Regions from separate parts of the Homo sapiens genome. Here all the other regions are linked to region 1. Evidence: promoter capture Hi-C in 16 types of primary human blood cells and fetal thymus (Javierre and others, 2016). All regions are on one chromosome and are shown on one strand. Each heading gives the region's core, a stretch centred on a gene start or on the middle of the fragment in contact. The rest is flanking DNA. Distances are from core to core; before and after follow the strand shown. Region 1 holds the start of DLG2 (discs large MAGUK scaffold protein 2). Region 2 overlaps EED (embryonic ectoderm development). Region 3 has its middle 19 kb from the start of EED. Region 4 has its middle 16 kb from the start of LINC02695. Region 5 overlaps LINC02695 (long intergenic non-protein coding RNA 2695).

The links. Contacts are between HindIII fragments. The CHiCAGO score rates a contact against its expected background, and 5 or more counts as called.
Region 2: a fragment that was not itself captured here is called in contact with the fragment with the promoter of DLG2 in region 1 in 10 of 17 cell types (naive CD8 T cells, non-activated CD4 T cells, naive CD4 T cells and 7 more); the score reaches 13.0 in naive CD8 T cells.
Region 3: a fragment that was not itself captured here is called in contact with the fragment with the promoter of DLG2 in region 1 in 2 of 17 cell types (naive CD4 T cells and naive CD8 T cells); the score reaches 5.6 in naive CD4 T cells.
Region 4: a fragment that was not itself captured here is called in contact with the fragment with the promoter of DLG2 in region 1 in 7 of 17 cell types (activated CD4 T cells, total CD4 T cells, naive CD8 T cells and 4 more); the score reaches 11.4 in activated CD4 T cells.
Region 5: a fragment that was not itself captured here is called in contact with the fragment with the promoter of DLG2 in region 1 in 7 of 17 cell types (non-activated CD4 T cells, naive CD4 T cells, activated CD4 T cells and 4 more); the score reaches 10.5 in non-activated CD4 T cells.

Annotation. Positions count from the first base shown.
Region 1 is chr11:85,625,754-85,628,593 of GRCh38, forward strand. DLG2 (discs large MAGUK scaffold protein 2) reads right to left here and starts at 1,591. Exons shown (of 28, transcript NM_001142699.3): 1 at 1,465-1,591; 2 at 834-1,000. It overlaps TMEM126B (transmembrane protein 126B), which reads left to right and starts at 2,840. Exons shown (of 5, transcript NM_018480.7): 1 at 2,840. RefSeq lists enhancers at 1,637-2,145, 2,018-2,177, 2,258-2,307, 2,448-2,637. The HindIII fragment of the contact is 9,013 bases long and covers 1-2,840 here.
Region 2 is chr11:86,268,236-86,271,075 of GRCh38, forward strand. It overlaps EED (embryonic ectoderm development), which reads left to right. Exons shown (of 12, transcript NM_003797.5): 9 at 221-326. Among named protein-coding and RNA genes, the nearest start is that of MIR6755, 8.7 kb to the right of the region's middle. The HindIII fragment of the contact is 6,326 bases long and covers 1-2,840 here.
Region 3 is chr11:86,224,408-86,227,247 of GRCh38, forward strand. No RefSeq gene overlaps it. Among named protein-coding and RNA genes, the nearest start is that of EED, 19 kb to the right of the region's middle. The HindIII fragment of the contact is 7,356 bases long and covers 1-2,840 here.
Region 4 is chr11:86,208,037-86,210,876 of GRCh38, forward strand. No RefSeq gene overlaps it. Among named protein-coding and RNA genes, the nearest start is that of LINC02695, 16 kb to the left of the region's middle. The HindIII fragment of the contact is 3,371 bases long and covers 1-2,840 here.
Region 5 is chr11:86,188,847-86,191,686 of GRCh38, forward strand. LINC02695 (long intergenic non-protein coding RNA 2695) reads right to left here. Exons shown (of 2, transcript XR_001748524.2): 2 at 2,622-2,840. Among named protein-coding and RNA genes, the nearest start is that of LINC02695, 3.2 kb to the right of the region's middle. The HindIII fragment of the contact is 3,645 bases long and covers 1-2,840 here.

The DNA.
Region 1 (2,840 bases), core at 341-2,840:
GATTCAAAACTCTTGAGAAACTCTTTACAGTTGATCTCACCTTCCATATAATGTCAAAACAAAACAAAACAAAAACAGTCCCAAACTAGGATCCTTTGGAACAAAGTTAACCTGGGGTGCATCTAAGCTAAACTGAATCCCCAAGTTCAGAATATAATCAACTATGCTTCAGGAATTCACTAGATCTTGATCAATTCCAATAATAAAAGTTGTTGAGGAGGGAGGAAAAAAACAGGTGTTTGCCCCATTTGGGGAACTTGACAATCATGTTATTGGATAATGCATATATCTGGAAAAGCACAATAGTCACGAAAGTTGTGCTTTATCACAAAAGTGAAGATTTACACTAGAATAAATCCAAATAATAAGTCTATTTTTTAACCAAAAGATAAATTATAAAGCTGTAATTTTGTTCAGTGCAAATGAAATTACTTTGCTACCTTTCACAATTCTGTAATTAGTTTGATAAATATTAAACCCATGAGGAAGAGCTCCACTGCACAAGTTTCTTTTTTAAAGACTGCTTAAAAGTAACCTTCAACAAGCTAAGAAAACAAGCTAAAGGAGACTCCAAATCTGCGGTACTGAATCTATTCTTATTACCAACGGTGATATAAACAACCTGATTTATGAAATCATAAATATCTATCAATAAATACTATAGTCTTGCTTCCTTTTACTTTAGTAAAATAATATTACTGAATTATGTACCACTGAAACTATATTACAATAAATATTTCCCCCAAACTGAAGCAAAACTTTACTCTCAAATGGAATATAATTTAAATTACAAGTACCAGAACCAACAAAAGGGAGAAATATTATATAGCAACCTTATGGCCCACCTGTCTTCTTGACTGGCATTCTTGGGTCTTTCCACTGCCACAGGAGTCAATATCTCTTTTCAGGTCTCAGTTTGATCCAGCTGGATTGAGGCCAAGAGCCAGGTAACTGTTGCAAACCACTTCAGTGTTCAGTTTTGAAATCCAGGCTGAGTCTTCTATGTCAGACAAAGAAAATAATGATGTATTTTTTCCACAACTAAACTTTTTACACCGCCCACAGAGTTTACAGCAACGTAATTTTTTAGTTTTTCAAGTTTTTCAATTTTCAGAAAATATTTAGACTGTTTTTACAAACTGGGAAAATTATTGTAAACATGAAGAACGTTACTGAAATTCCTCTTCAGGCAGCAACATTTTTGGAAGTTCAATGACTAACTCAATTAAGGCACAAACCAAATTTAGACAGGTCTCATTACTTTATACATGGTCAAATTCAAAGATGATGATAAAGATACTCAAATCTGTAGAGAAAAATGTAACCCCACCTCCCCAAAAATACTTTTAAAAATCTCTTTGACTCCAGTCTCTAAAAAGATAGGTGAGTTTGAACAGTTTTCTGTGGCAGAACACACATTGAAAGGCCCCCTTATATTTACTGATCAGAAGTTCCGGATCTCACCCCCTCAGTAACTCAGAATCCAGCTTGCTGTCCCTTTCATTTTTTTCTTCTGTGCTCTCCAAGCCCCCAGGCTTGATCCTTAATGCCCCTCTGATTCTGATCCTCCCATGTATTAACCGAGAGGATTGAAAAAAAAGGAAAGCAATCCCTTGGCATGGAGACATTAAAGTGACAGTGCTACTCAATGGGCACTTGATGCAGGATGAGTTGGCGAAGCAGATTTCTTCACACTGGAGTCATTCACATCATGCCATCTCTTCGCATTCAAGCAGCTCCCTATCCGGCGAGGAAAAACACTGAGACTTCGAGAGAAGCCAAACCTTCCCCCAAAGGTGTTTTCAGAGACGCCGTAGTAGTATTAGACATGTAAGCATAAGCTATGTAAACGGTCCGCGATTTCCTAAATGAGAAAGTGCAGCTGCTTGGCTTTCACATCCACCTTTTCTCTCAATCTCTCTTCAAACTACCCACCTTCCTTTTGCAGAAAAGACAAGACATTTCTTTGCCACCGCTGGCCACCCCTGCCCAAGCCCCGTTCTTTTAGGGAAGAGCACTGAAATGTCCTGCACCCTCCACGCGATGAAGTGTTTCCTCAGGCAGGAGCAACAGCAGCACTAGAAATTATATAACTCTCGAATTTGGCTTCTGTAAGACATGGAGACTGGAGGGTCGGGGGTTGCCGGTCTGGGAGATACTGCTGGGCATTTAACGTGCACAAAACAGCGCCAGGCCTTGCAGTGCCCCCCACCCCGAGACACGGCTGACAAGTGGGTCTTCTCGCGGGGGTAGTGGGCAAATTTCTCTCCGGTCTCTTTCCAAGCGGGGCTAAAGGATGCAAATTGAGGGGACTACAGACTGGGGAGAGGAGTCAGACGGCTGAGAGGAGAGGAGGCTAGTCGGGGCTGCTCTGACGGCGCTGGGCGGCTGGTCCGGGGTTTGGAGGAGGAGGTGCCCGAGAAACAGAGCTTTAACACCACACAGGCCAGGGCAAAGGGGCGAGTTCCCTCAAGGACTGAAAGGGGCAGGCAGCTAGTTCCCAGCTGCCCTGAGGAGAGGCAGGAGCGCAGTAACATTACAACATTCGGGCCGCCCCATCTTTCCCGCAGGACGCGAAGAGATCAGGGAGCTAAGCTGATAAATAGTCAGGGAAGGAAATACTCGGCTGGCGAGGGGGGCAGGCCCACAGGCGCCTGGACCTCCTCTAAGCGAATAAGTGGCCGTAATTTCTAGACGCCGCGCCCAATCACAGTCAGGATGGAGGGCGCGGCTTTTGACTGAGTGGGGGCGGGCCCGGGCTGCAATCGAGAGGCGTTGAGCCGTAAATCAGCACCACTTCCCGCCCAGGGCGTTCTGGGTCCCCGCCCACCGGCAAGTCA
Region 2 (2,840 bases), core at 208-2,707, 640 kb after region 1:
GACAAAGATAAAATTGGATAATAATGGAGAAAAATAAACAAAAGTGGAATGAGACTTTAGCTTTCAATAAATAGATAAGGTGGTTGGTTATGTAGGAACACAGAGGAATTAATAGTCTTACATTTTGTTTTTCCAAGTTTTATAAATCCAAAAATGAAAAAGAGTATGATTCTACTATAATTTTTTCTTTTAACTTTTTACATTTCCATTCTTCCTTCAGGCCATTTATTTCTCAGAAAATCCATTTTCCTGATTTTTCTACCAGAGACATACATAGGAATTATGTTGATTGTGTGCGATGGTTAGGCGATTTGATACTTTCTAAGGTATGGTAACTGCAGTTAAGCTGTACTTCCATCGTGTGTGTGTGTGTGTGTGTGTGTGTGTGTGTATGTGTGTGCGCATGTTGGAACTTGGCAGGGAGCACTTTATGTAGTTTATTAAATTGAATGGCAGCTGGGAAGTTGCCTTTTTTAAAGTCTCATATTTTGATATATTTAGAAACTTGTTTTAAGAATAAAACATGCCATTGAATTATAATTCTTTGTGCTCCAGTAAGATGAGTATAGTTTTATAAGGTGATAGTATTCTCTGATAGTCAGTATTGTTACAAGATAACCAGTAACTAAAGCCAACAGAATTGGCTTTTGTTTTTTTGTATCTCTGTGACTATTTTAGTAAAATTTTATTTATAAAAACAGGTGGCTGGAGTTGGCTTATGGGCTGTAGTTTGCCAACCCCTGCCCCTGTTGATGGATTTATACAGATGCTCCTCAACTTATGATGGGATTACATCGTGATAAACCCATCATAAATTGAAAACGCATTTAATACACATAACCTACTGAATATCAGCTTAGCCCAGCCTATCTTAAATGTGCTCAGAATTAGCCTACAGTTGGGCAAAATTATCTAACACAAAGCCTGTTTTATAATAAAGCATTGAATATCTCACATACTGCATACTGCTAGCCCAGGAAAAGATCAAAATTCAAAATTCCAAGTACTTCAAAATTGCAGCTGTTTTGTACCATTTTGGTAAAGTTGAAAAATTGTAAATCAGACCATTGTAAGTCAAGGCCATCTGGGTGTGTGTGTGTGTGTGTTTGTGTGTCTGTGTATTTTTTTGTAGCTGATAATTTAGAGAAGCTATTGGTGATGTTACATGAGCATTTAGGATTATCAAATTTGGTGAAATTGCTGTCCGGTTTCTTTTCTTGATGTGAATTTCAGGCCACTTCACATTTTCTTGGGCAGAGCCTGATTTACTTTTTTCTTGGCTTTATGTGTAAACTGTTTTTTTCTTTTTTCTTTAAACTTTTGACCTTCAAATAACTTGATTCATAGGATGTTTCAAAGATTGTGCAGAGAGGTCCCATATGATCTTTATCCAGAATCCAAAGTTTATATATTATATAACTGTAATACAATATCAAATCCAGAAAATTGACACTGGTACAATGTGTGTGTTTAGTTTTATGTCATTTTATCACGTGAATTTTGTCATTTCAAGAATGGTACAGTTTGGGACCTTTTAAGATTGTTTTTTTCCACTCAAACCCTTGAGATCCATCCAGGTTGTTGCCTGTATCAGTAGTTCTCCTTTTTTATTGCTGAGTAGTATTCCATGGTATGGATTACCATAGTTTATGTAACTATCTATGGTAGGAGGTTTTGGTCATTTCCAGTTCTGGGCTATTGCAAATAAAGCTGCTAATCAGCAGTTGTGTCCAGGTTTTTGTGTGGACTTAAGTTTTCATTTCTCTGGGTAAATGCCTAGGAGGGCAATTGCTGGGTTGTGGTTAAGTTTGTTTAGTTTTTTAAGAAACTGCCAAACTATTTTCCAGAGTGGCCGTGCCATTTTACATTCCCACCAGCAATGTATGAGAGATCCAGTGTCTCCGAATCTTCGCCAGCATTTGGTATTGTCATTATTTTTTATTTTAGCTGTTCTGATAGGTGTGTAGTGATATCTCATCGTGGTCTTAATTTGCATTTCCCTGATGGCTAGTGATGTTGAACATCTTTTTCATGTGCTTATTTACCATTCGTATATCCTTTTTGGTGATGTCTTTTCATATCTTTTGCTCATTTTCTAATTGGATTGGTTTTTTGTTGTGTTTTTTTTTTTTTTTTAACTGTTGAGTTTTGAGAGTTTGAATATATTCTAAATATGAATCCTGTATCAGATACATAGTTTGCAAATATTTTCTTTCAGTCTGTAGCTTGTCATTTCATCCTCTTTAATAGGGTCTTTCACAGAGCAAATGTTTGTAGTTTTTATTAAATCCAGTATATTGATTTTTTAAAATTATTTTATGGATTATGCTTTTGATGTTTTGCCTGAGAACTCCTTACCAAGCTATAGACCTTAAAGATTTTCTCCTGTGTTCTCTTGTAAAAGTTTTATACTGCTATGTTTTACATTAAATGTGTAATCCATTTTGAGTTGATTTCCTTATGAAGGTGCGAGGTTTAGGTGGAAGTTCATTTTTCTCTTATAGATACTCAGTTGTTCCATCAGCATTTGTTGGAAGACTATTCTTCCGCCATTGAATTGCTTTTGCACCTCTCTCAGAAATTGTTTGGCTGTACTTACGTGGGGCTGTTTTTGATTTTCCTGTTCTGTTTCATCTGTATATCTGTCCCTCCACCAGTACTACATACACAGTCCTCATTATTGTAGCTCTATAATTATTCTTGGAATCTGATAGATTTTTCCCGCTTTTATTTTTTTCATAATTGTTTTGAGCTATTCTAATTCCTTTGTCTTTCTGTGTGTAAATTTTAGAATAATCTTTTCTACATTTCTAAAAATCTTGCTGGGAGTTGTTTTGAGG
Region 3 (2,840 bases), core at 236-2,735, 600 kb after region 1:
ATGGGGAACGGACTCCTATTCAATAAATGGTGCTGGGATAACTGGCTAGCCATATACAGAAGACTGAAATTGGATCTCCTTCCTTAAACCATGTAGAAAAATCAACTGAAGATGGATTAAAGACTTAGGTTTCATGATAAAGACACCAAAAGCAATTGCAACAGAAGCAAAAATTGACAAAAGGGATCTAATTAAAGAGCTTCTGCACAGGAAAGGAAACTATCAATAGAGTAAACAGACAACCTACAGAATGTAAGAAAATTTTTGCAAACTATACACCTGACAAAGGTCTAATAATATCCAGCATCTACAAGGAACTTAAATTTACAAGAAAAAAACAAACAGCCCATTAAAAAGTGGGCAAAAAACGTGAACAGGCACTTTTCAAAAGAAGGCATATATGTGGCCAACAATCATTAAAAAACTCAACGTCACTGATCATTAGAGAAATGCAAATAAAAACCACAATGAGATACCATCTCACACCAGTCAGAACGGTTCTATTTTTTTTTAAGACAGAGTCTCACTCTGTCACCCAGGCTAGAGTGCAGTGGTGCGATCTCAGCTCACTGCAACCTCTGCCTCCCAGGTTCAAGTGACTCTCCTGCTTCAGCTTCCCTAGTAGCTGGGATTACAGGTGCATGCCACTGTGCCCAGCTAATTTTTGTATTTTTAGTAGAAACGGGGTTTCACCATGTTGGCAGGCTAATCTTGAACTCCTGACTTAAAGGGATCCACTCGCCTTAGCCTCCCAAAGTGCTGGGATTACATGCATGAGCCACCACACCTGACCCAGAATAGCTATTATTAAAAAGTCAAAAAATAACAGATGCTAATGAGGTTGTGGAGGAAAAGGAATGCTTATACACTGTTGATGGGAGGATAAATTAGTTCAGCCATTGTGGAAGACAGTGTGGTGATTCCTCAAAGACCTAAAAACAGAAATACCATTCAACAGAGCAATCCCATCACTGGGTATATACCCAAAGAAATATACATCATTCTGTCATAAAGACACATGCACATGTATGTTCATTGCAGCACTATTGACAATAGCAAAGGCATGGAATCAACCTAAATGCCCATCACTGGTAGACCGAATAAAGAAAATGTGGTACATATACACAATGGAATACTATGCAGCCATAAAAAAGAACAAGATCATGTCCTTTGAGGAAACATGGATGGAGCTGGAGGCCATTATCCTTAGCAAACTAATGTAGGAACAGAAAACTAAATACCACGTGCGCTCACTTACAAGTGGGAGCTAAGTGATGAGAATAAATGGTTACATAGAGGGAAAAAATACACACTGGGGCCTATTGGAGGGTGGAGGTTAGGAGGAGGGAGAGGATCAGGAAAAATAACTAATGGGTACTAGGCCTAATACCTGGCTGATGAAATAATCTGTACAACGAACTCCCGTGAAAGAAGTTTACTTGTATAACAAACCTGCACATTTACTCCTGAACTTAAAAGTTACATTTTAAAAACAAAATAACCTAAATACATAGATAAATAAAACAAAAAATGTTATGTGGGCCAAACAAAAAAAAACTATGCAGGCTGAAGCCTGGAGAACACAACTTTATGGCCTTTGATCTTTGTATAATTGATGGATTTGCTCTTAATTTTCAATGTTTTACAAAAATTACAAATGTTATCATTGATCTTTCATGTTCAGTAAGATCAAATGCATCTGGAGTATTAACAATGTTAGTAGGGAGAGACAGGCAATTAGTTTAAAAACAAAAATAGATGTAAAAATTGAAGATGATAAATGTATGTAGTGATGGGATAAATTGTTCAGGAATAATGACAATTCTGAGGAACAAATGTCTGATCATGCAATCACTCATATATCTATGCTATCAACAATAATAAGCAAGAAGAATAAAAAAATTGTCAGAAGGAAAGGCTTTATGGGTGTACAGCTAGAGAAGGAATATTAATGTCAGATGCCAGAATCAAGTTAATTCTGGATAAAAACATCATTTGTTTAGGAACTTGAGGACTGAACATGATAAAAATGCACCTGATGGAACTTTTTACATAGCCACACTTAAGTTCTGTAGTTTAAGGACATCATAGCTGCCAAGGAGATTTCTACACTTGCAGCCATCACCAAAGAGGGAGATTTCCTTCCTAAACATATGTTCAACGTGGTGGAAACTAGTATATGAGAAAAGATAGCTGAGAGATTGTACAGGAAGTAGAATAGAGCATGTCTAGTCTGTGATGTTGAAGGCAAACTAATTTTTTAAAGCAATAATTATAAATGTTTATAATTCAAATAGTATAAAAAAGACACACAGTAAAAACCAACTTTTCCTTCTTTCCTATACCCCCAGTTCCCTGCCTAAAGGTGACCTTTATTAGGAATTTAAATATTTCCTTTCATACACATAAGGGCACATTATACACACTGTTCTGTAACTTTTTTCCCATGTAATATATTTTGGAGATTGTTCTATATCAATTCATATAGATATACCTTATTTATTTTAAAGACTACATTATAGATATACTATAACTTATATAATCAATACCCCATTGATGGATCTATATTGTAGTCTTTTGCTATTACAAACAGTAAGTGTGCTGGTTCTCTTCAGAGAACTTATCTGGTGGAATTCCATCCAGGGCTTGCAAACATAAACATCTCTTAGTTCTTTTGGTCTTGCGAACAAATAAACTTAGAAAGAGCCATTTGGAAATGAACTTGTTTGTTACTAGAGAAGAACTGTGTGGAGAGAGGGCAAATGTGGCAGAATGCCCAGCAGAAAAACTAAATAGAAAATTAGGTCAGGATTGCTTCTCAGCCTTTTGACTAAGATCAA
Region 4 (2,840 bases), core at 107-2,606, 580 kb after region 1:
TAGCTGGGTGTGGTGGTGCACGCCTGTAATCCCAGCTACTCAGGAAGCTGAGGCAGGAGAATCTCTTGAACCCGGGAAGCAGAGGTTGCGGTGAGCTGAGATTGTGCCATTGTACTCAGCCTGGGCAACAAGAGTGAAACTCCGTCTCAAAAAAAAAAAAAAAAAAAAAAAGAGAAAAGAAAGGCAAAAGACCTGAATAGACATTTCTCAAAAGAAGACGTATGAATGGCCAACAGGTATATGAAAAAATGGTCAACATCACTAATTATCAGGAAAATGTAAGTTAAATTAAAACCACAATGAGATATCACCTCACACATGTTCGAATAGCTATCAAAAAGACAAATGATAATACATGTTGGTGAGGATGTGGACAAAGGGGAACCCTTGTACAATGTGGGTCAGAATGTAAATTGGTACAGCCACTATGGAAAATCACGTAGAGGTTCCTCAGAAATTAATAATAGGACTACCTTATGACCCAGCAATCCCACTTCTGGATATATATCCAAAAGAAAGGAAATCAATATATTGAAGAGATATCTGCATCCCCACAATCATTGCAGCATTATTCACAACAGCCAAGACAGAAAATCAATCTAAGTGTCCATCAATGGATGAATGGATAAAGAAAATGTTTTACACACACACACACAATGTAATATTGTTCAGCCTTTCAAAATAAGGAAGTTCTGTCATTTATGACAATCTGGGTAAACCTAAAGGATATTATGCTAAGTGAGATAAGCCAGGCACTGAAAGACTACAGATACTACAGATCTCACTTATATGTGGAACTCATAGAAGCAGAGAGTAAAATGGTGGTTAACAGGGCCTGGGGGTAAGGAGAAAGGAATGGGGAGATACTGTCAAAGGGTAGAGGGTTTCTAACTGTTAGGATGAATAAATTCTGGAGATCTATTGTACAGCATAGTGATGATAGTTAAGAATACTGTATTGTATTCTGGAAAATTGCTAAGACAATAGATTTTAAATGTTCTCACTACAAAAAAGTTGTATGTGCAGTGATGGATATGTTAATTACTTTGATTTAATTATTTCACCACATATACATATATCAAAACCTCACATTGTACACTGTAAATATATATCATTTTTATTTGCCAACTATAGCTTAATAAAGCTAGGGGAGGGTGGAGAAGTACAGGTGATCTGATATTGCACGTAGCATCTGAAATGAGGGCAGCCTGTGGCTCTGAGCCCTTAAACCTGAAGAGTCAGAGGCCAACTCTGAGTAGTTAGTGCTAATTGAATTGGATTGTTGGACACCCAGTCAATTTCCAGAGACATGGAGAATTGGTTGGTGTGAGAAAACAACCCAAAAAGTTGGTGTCAGAAGTGCTGTAAGTAAAAACAGCTTACTTCTGGTAAAATGTACCCTACTAATTTTACTATTCTATTTATCTGGTAAAAAAAAATTAGTAGAATCTCATAGGTTCTGTGGGGTGTGTGTGTGTGTGTGTGTGTGTGTGTGTGTTCATGAGAAGTTTGGTTTGGTAGGTGCAGAAGTTTGGCTTTAGTGGATGTAGAAGTAAGTCTAGGGTTTTTTCCCTGAAATATTCCAGGTCTAGGTTTAGTCCTTGCTTTGTTCTTTCTCCTCGATATTCCATATTCCTTACTTCCTTCAAGTAAACTTCAAGTAAACTCACTGTTTTTGGAAACCAACATTGACCTCATTCAACTCAGTTACCTCTACTTGGTTCAGTCAAATACTCCAGTGTTTAACACATTCTGTAAGGCAGTGGAGAGCTGTGGAAAGGTTTTAAACCTTGAGAACATGGTAAAATTTACCACATGATTTTAGGTAATCACTTGGACCAGAGGTTGCATACCAGAGACTCAATGATAGAGGCTCTCTAGTGTAGTGCACAAAAAGCGCAAGTTCTGGAGTCAGCCAAACCTGAGGCCACATCTGGTTTTCAACACTTATTGGATGTATAACCTTGAACAAGTTACTCATTCTCTCCAAGCCTACATTTCTTCATCAAGGGCAATAGAAATCATTTTCAGTTAAGTCATGTTTGTAAAGCACTTAATGCAAACACTGGCATGTAGAAAGCACTCAGTAAATAGTAACTAGTAAGTTAATTGCTGTGTTGTTCTGTGAATGTTTTCTTTGTTGTTTCATGAGTCTTAACTGGATTTTAAACTCCTGGTCTGCATCTGTCTCTTTTACTTCCCACTAAGGGCACCTGATACAGTGTCTGACTAGATTCCATCCTAGACTCATTCCTTTTAGTCCAGGGCTGACCTGGTACAGTCCTGATTAGAAGGTTACTCAAATGTCATCCCGTTCCAACTCTGGGGCAACCTTATGTCAAAGGAAGGTAGACTAGGCCAAGGTGGTCTTTGACATCCACTTCTTTCTTTTTCATGACCCTGAAACCTTAAACTAGGATCACTTTAGGCTTCCCCTTCTGGACTCACACCTCACTCAATGCCACACTCCCACGCCACTCTTCTCCTGTCCACCTAGAATGAGTCCCTCGTTAAAACTGACTCTGGCCCGGCACAGTGGCTCACGCATGTAATCCCAGCACTTTGGTTGGCCGAGGAGTGCGGATCACTTAAGGTCAGGAGTTCGAGACCAGCCTGGCCAACATGGTGAAACCTTGTCTCTACTAAAAATACAAAAATTAGCCAAGCATAGTAGCACAGGCCAGGAGTCCCAGCTACTTGGGAGGCTGAGGCATGAGAATTCCTTGAACCTGGGAGGCGGAGGTTGCAGTGAGCCGAGATCACACCATGCATTCAAGCCTGGGTGACAAAAGTGAGACTCCATCTCAAAAAAAAAAAAAAAGAAAGAAAGAAAAACTCTG
Region 5 (2,840 bases), core at 227-2,726, 560 kb after region 1:
ATCCATGCTGAAGCATGTACCTACTTTATCCTTTTTATGGCCAAATAATACTCCATTGTGTAAGTATAGCACCTTTTGCTTATCATTTTATCAGCCAATGGACATCTGAGTTGTTTCTACCTTTTGACTATTATGAGTAGTGCTGTTATGAATATTTGTGTACAAGTTTTTGTGTGGACATATGTTTTCATTTCTCTTGGGCATATACTTAGGAGTGACATTGTCAAACGATAACTCTATTTTTAACTTTTTGAGGAACTTCCAGGTTGTGTTTTCGAAAGTGGCTGTACCATTTTATATTCCCACCAACAATATATTGAGGGTTCCCACTTTCCTATGCCCTCACTGACGCTTAGTGTGCTTTGCTTTTTTCACTCAACATTATTTCATAGATATGTTTCCATGTTCACTTGGTTATCATTTTTAATGGTTACACAGCGTTCCAAATCAGTTAGTTGGATATTATTTAAAAATTACTTTAAAGCTCAGGACTTGGATTGTTTTCATTTTGTGCCATTATAAATAGTGGTACTAGAATCTTCACTGCTTACTACATTTTTCCTTTAGCTTATGTCCTTGAGGTATGTTCCAAAGTGGAACAAAGGGCACATACAGCTCATGTACTGCTTCCCTGGTTAGTCTGCAGAAGAGTTGACTGTACCTAAAATGCTATCAGCAAAGTTTGCACTTGCCTTCCTCTCCACAGCCTCTGCCAACATAAGGCTTTGTTGCTTTATTTGTGTATATTAATGATATAGTTACTGTATTAGTCTGTTCTCACACTGCTAATAAAGACATACTTGAGACTGGATAATTTATAAAGAAAAGAGGTTTAATTGACTCACAGTTCCACATGGCTGGGGAGGCCTCATAATCATGGCAGAAGGCAAAGGAGAAGCAAAGTCATGTCTTACATGGTAGCAGGTAAGAGAGTTTGTGTAGGGGAACGCCCATTTATAAAACCATCAGATCTCATGAAACTTACTCTCTCCCATGAGAACAGTATGGGGGAAACCATCCCCATGATTCAGTTATCTCCATCTGGCCCGGCCCTTGACACATGGGGATTATTACAATTCAAGATGAGATTTGGGTGGTGACTGAGCCAAACCATATCAGGTATAGGTACATGATAGAATCTTATTTTTTATTTTTATTTTGAGACAGAATCTCACTCTGTTGCCCAGGCTCAAGTGCAGTGGCACGATCTTGGCTCACTGCAACCACTTCCTCCTGGGTTCAAGTGATTATCCTGCCTCAACCTCCCCAGTAGCTGGGAATTACAGGCATGCACAACCACATCCAGCTAATTTTTGTATTTTTTAGTAGAAATGAGGTTTCAGCATGTTGGCCAGGTTGGTCTCAAACTCCTGGTCTCAGGTGATCTGCCTGCCTCGGCCTCCCAAAGTGCTGGGATTACATGTGTGAGCCACCACACCTGGCCTGAATCTTAACAATCTTAGGCTGTTTCGATTTGTATTTCTTTCATTGTTGGTGAACTCACAATATTTTAACAGCCATCAGCTGTTACTCTAAGCCATCCATCCAAAAAAGCCAAGCAGTGCAGGAGAATCTAGGGCCATAGCAAAAGGCAGAAGATGGAGCTTAAAGAAATTCCCTGGGTTTGGGCAGGGCGTAGTGGCTCACGCCTGTAGTCCCAATACTTTGGGAAGCCAAGGAGGGGAGATCACCCGAGGTCAGGATGATCTCAGGTCAGGTTCGAGATGGTGAAACCTCATCTCTACTAAAAATACAAAAATTAGCCTGGGCGTGGTGTCAGGCACCTATAATCTCAGCTACTTAGGAGGCTGAGGCACAAGAATAGCTTGAACCCAGGAGGCGAAGGCTGCAGTGAGCTAAGATCGCACCACTGCACTCCAGCCTGGGCGACAGAGTGAGACTCTGTCTTTAAAAAAAAAAAAATTCCCTGGGTCTGGGAGCAGGCTCAGGAGGTATGTTTGATAGCGTGACTGCAGCCTCAGCTGTAGATGAAGAGGACACTGGTAATGATGCTGAACTGATTTAGACATCATATCCTTTTCCACGTTCTCCTTTCATTTGGCACTTCTCCTGGTTCTGCTTCTCCCTCCCTGGCCATTCCTTCTAAGCCTCCTTTCAGCATTTCTTTCCTTCTACCTGCTTCTTATACATCGGTATTAAATATAGGATTTCATTATTGGATCCTTCTTTTTTAACTTAATACTCTGGGCAATCTCATTCACCCCCATGGCGGTAATGACAATTTAAATGCTGAAAATTCCCAAATATGTATTGCCAGCCTAGACTACGCTCTTGAATTCCAGAAGCACATATCTAGTTTCCAACTGTATATCTCCATTTGAATGTCCTCTAGGCACCTTGAGTCCAGTATCTTCCCCTCCGATCACTCCTTTTTTTCCCCATATGCCCTACCTGTATGACTGTAGCAACATCAACCCAGTCACTGAAGCCAGAAATGTGGAAGGCACTCCAAACTCTTTCTTCTGCACCTACATATTCCTAAATGTGCACCTTCTTCTCCCTAAACCTATTACACGAATTTGATTAATGTTTCAACCATTTCTCCCAATAACTCTAGCATTGTTACATGTATTAGGGTTCTATTGGTTGCAACTCGTTGCTTCAGAAGGGAATGGAAGAAGATTTATTGGATGTATACTTGTGTGGAATGAAAGGAGAAACTGAGAAATCATTGTGGAGAGGCAGGCTTCAGAGTGGCTCCGGGGACCTCAGCAGCAAGCAGGTTGCTCTGGGCCTTCTCTGGAGAGTCTCCTACGAATAGACTTGGTTCCAACAATGCTTAGCCTCTGCATCTCTTGGATCAAAGTTCCAAATTTCTA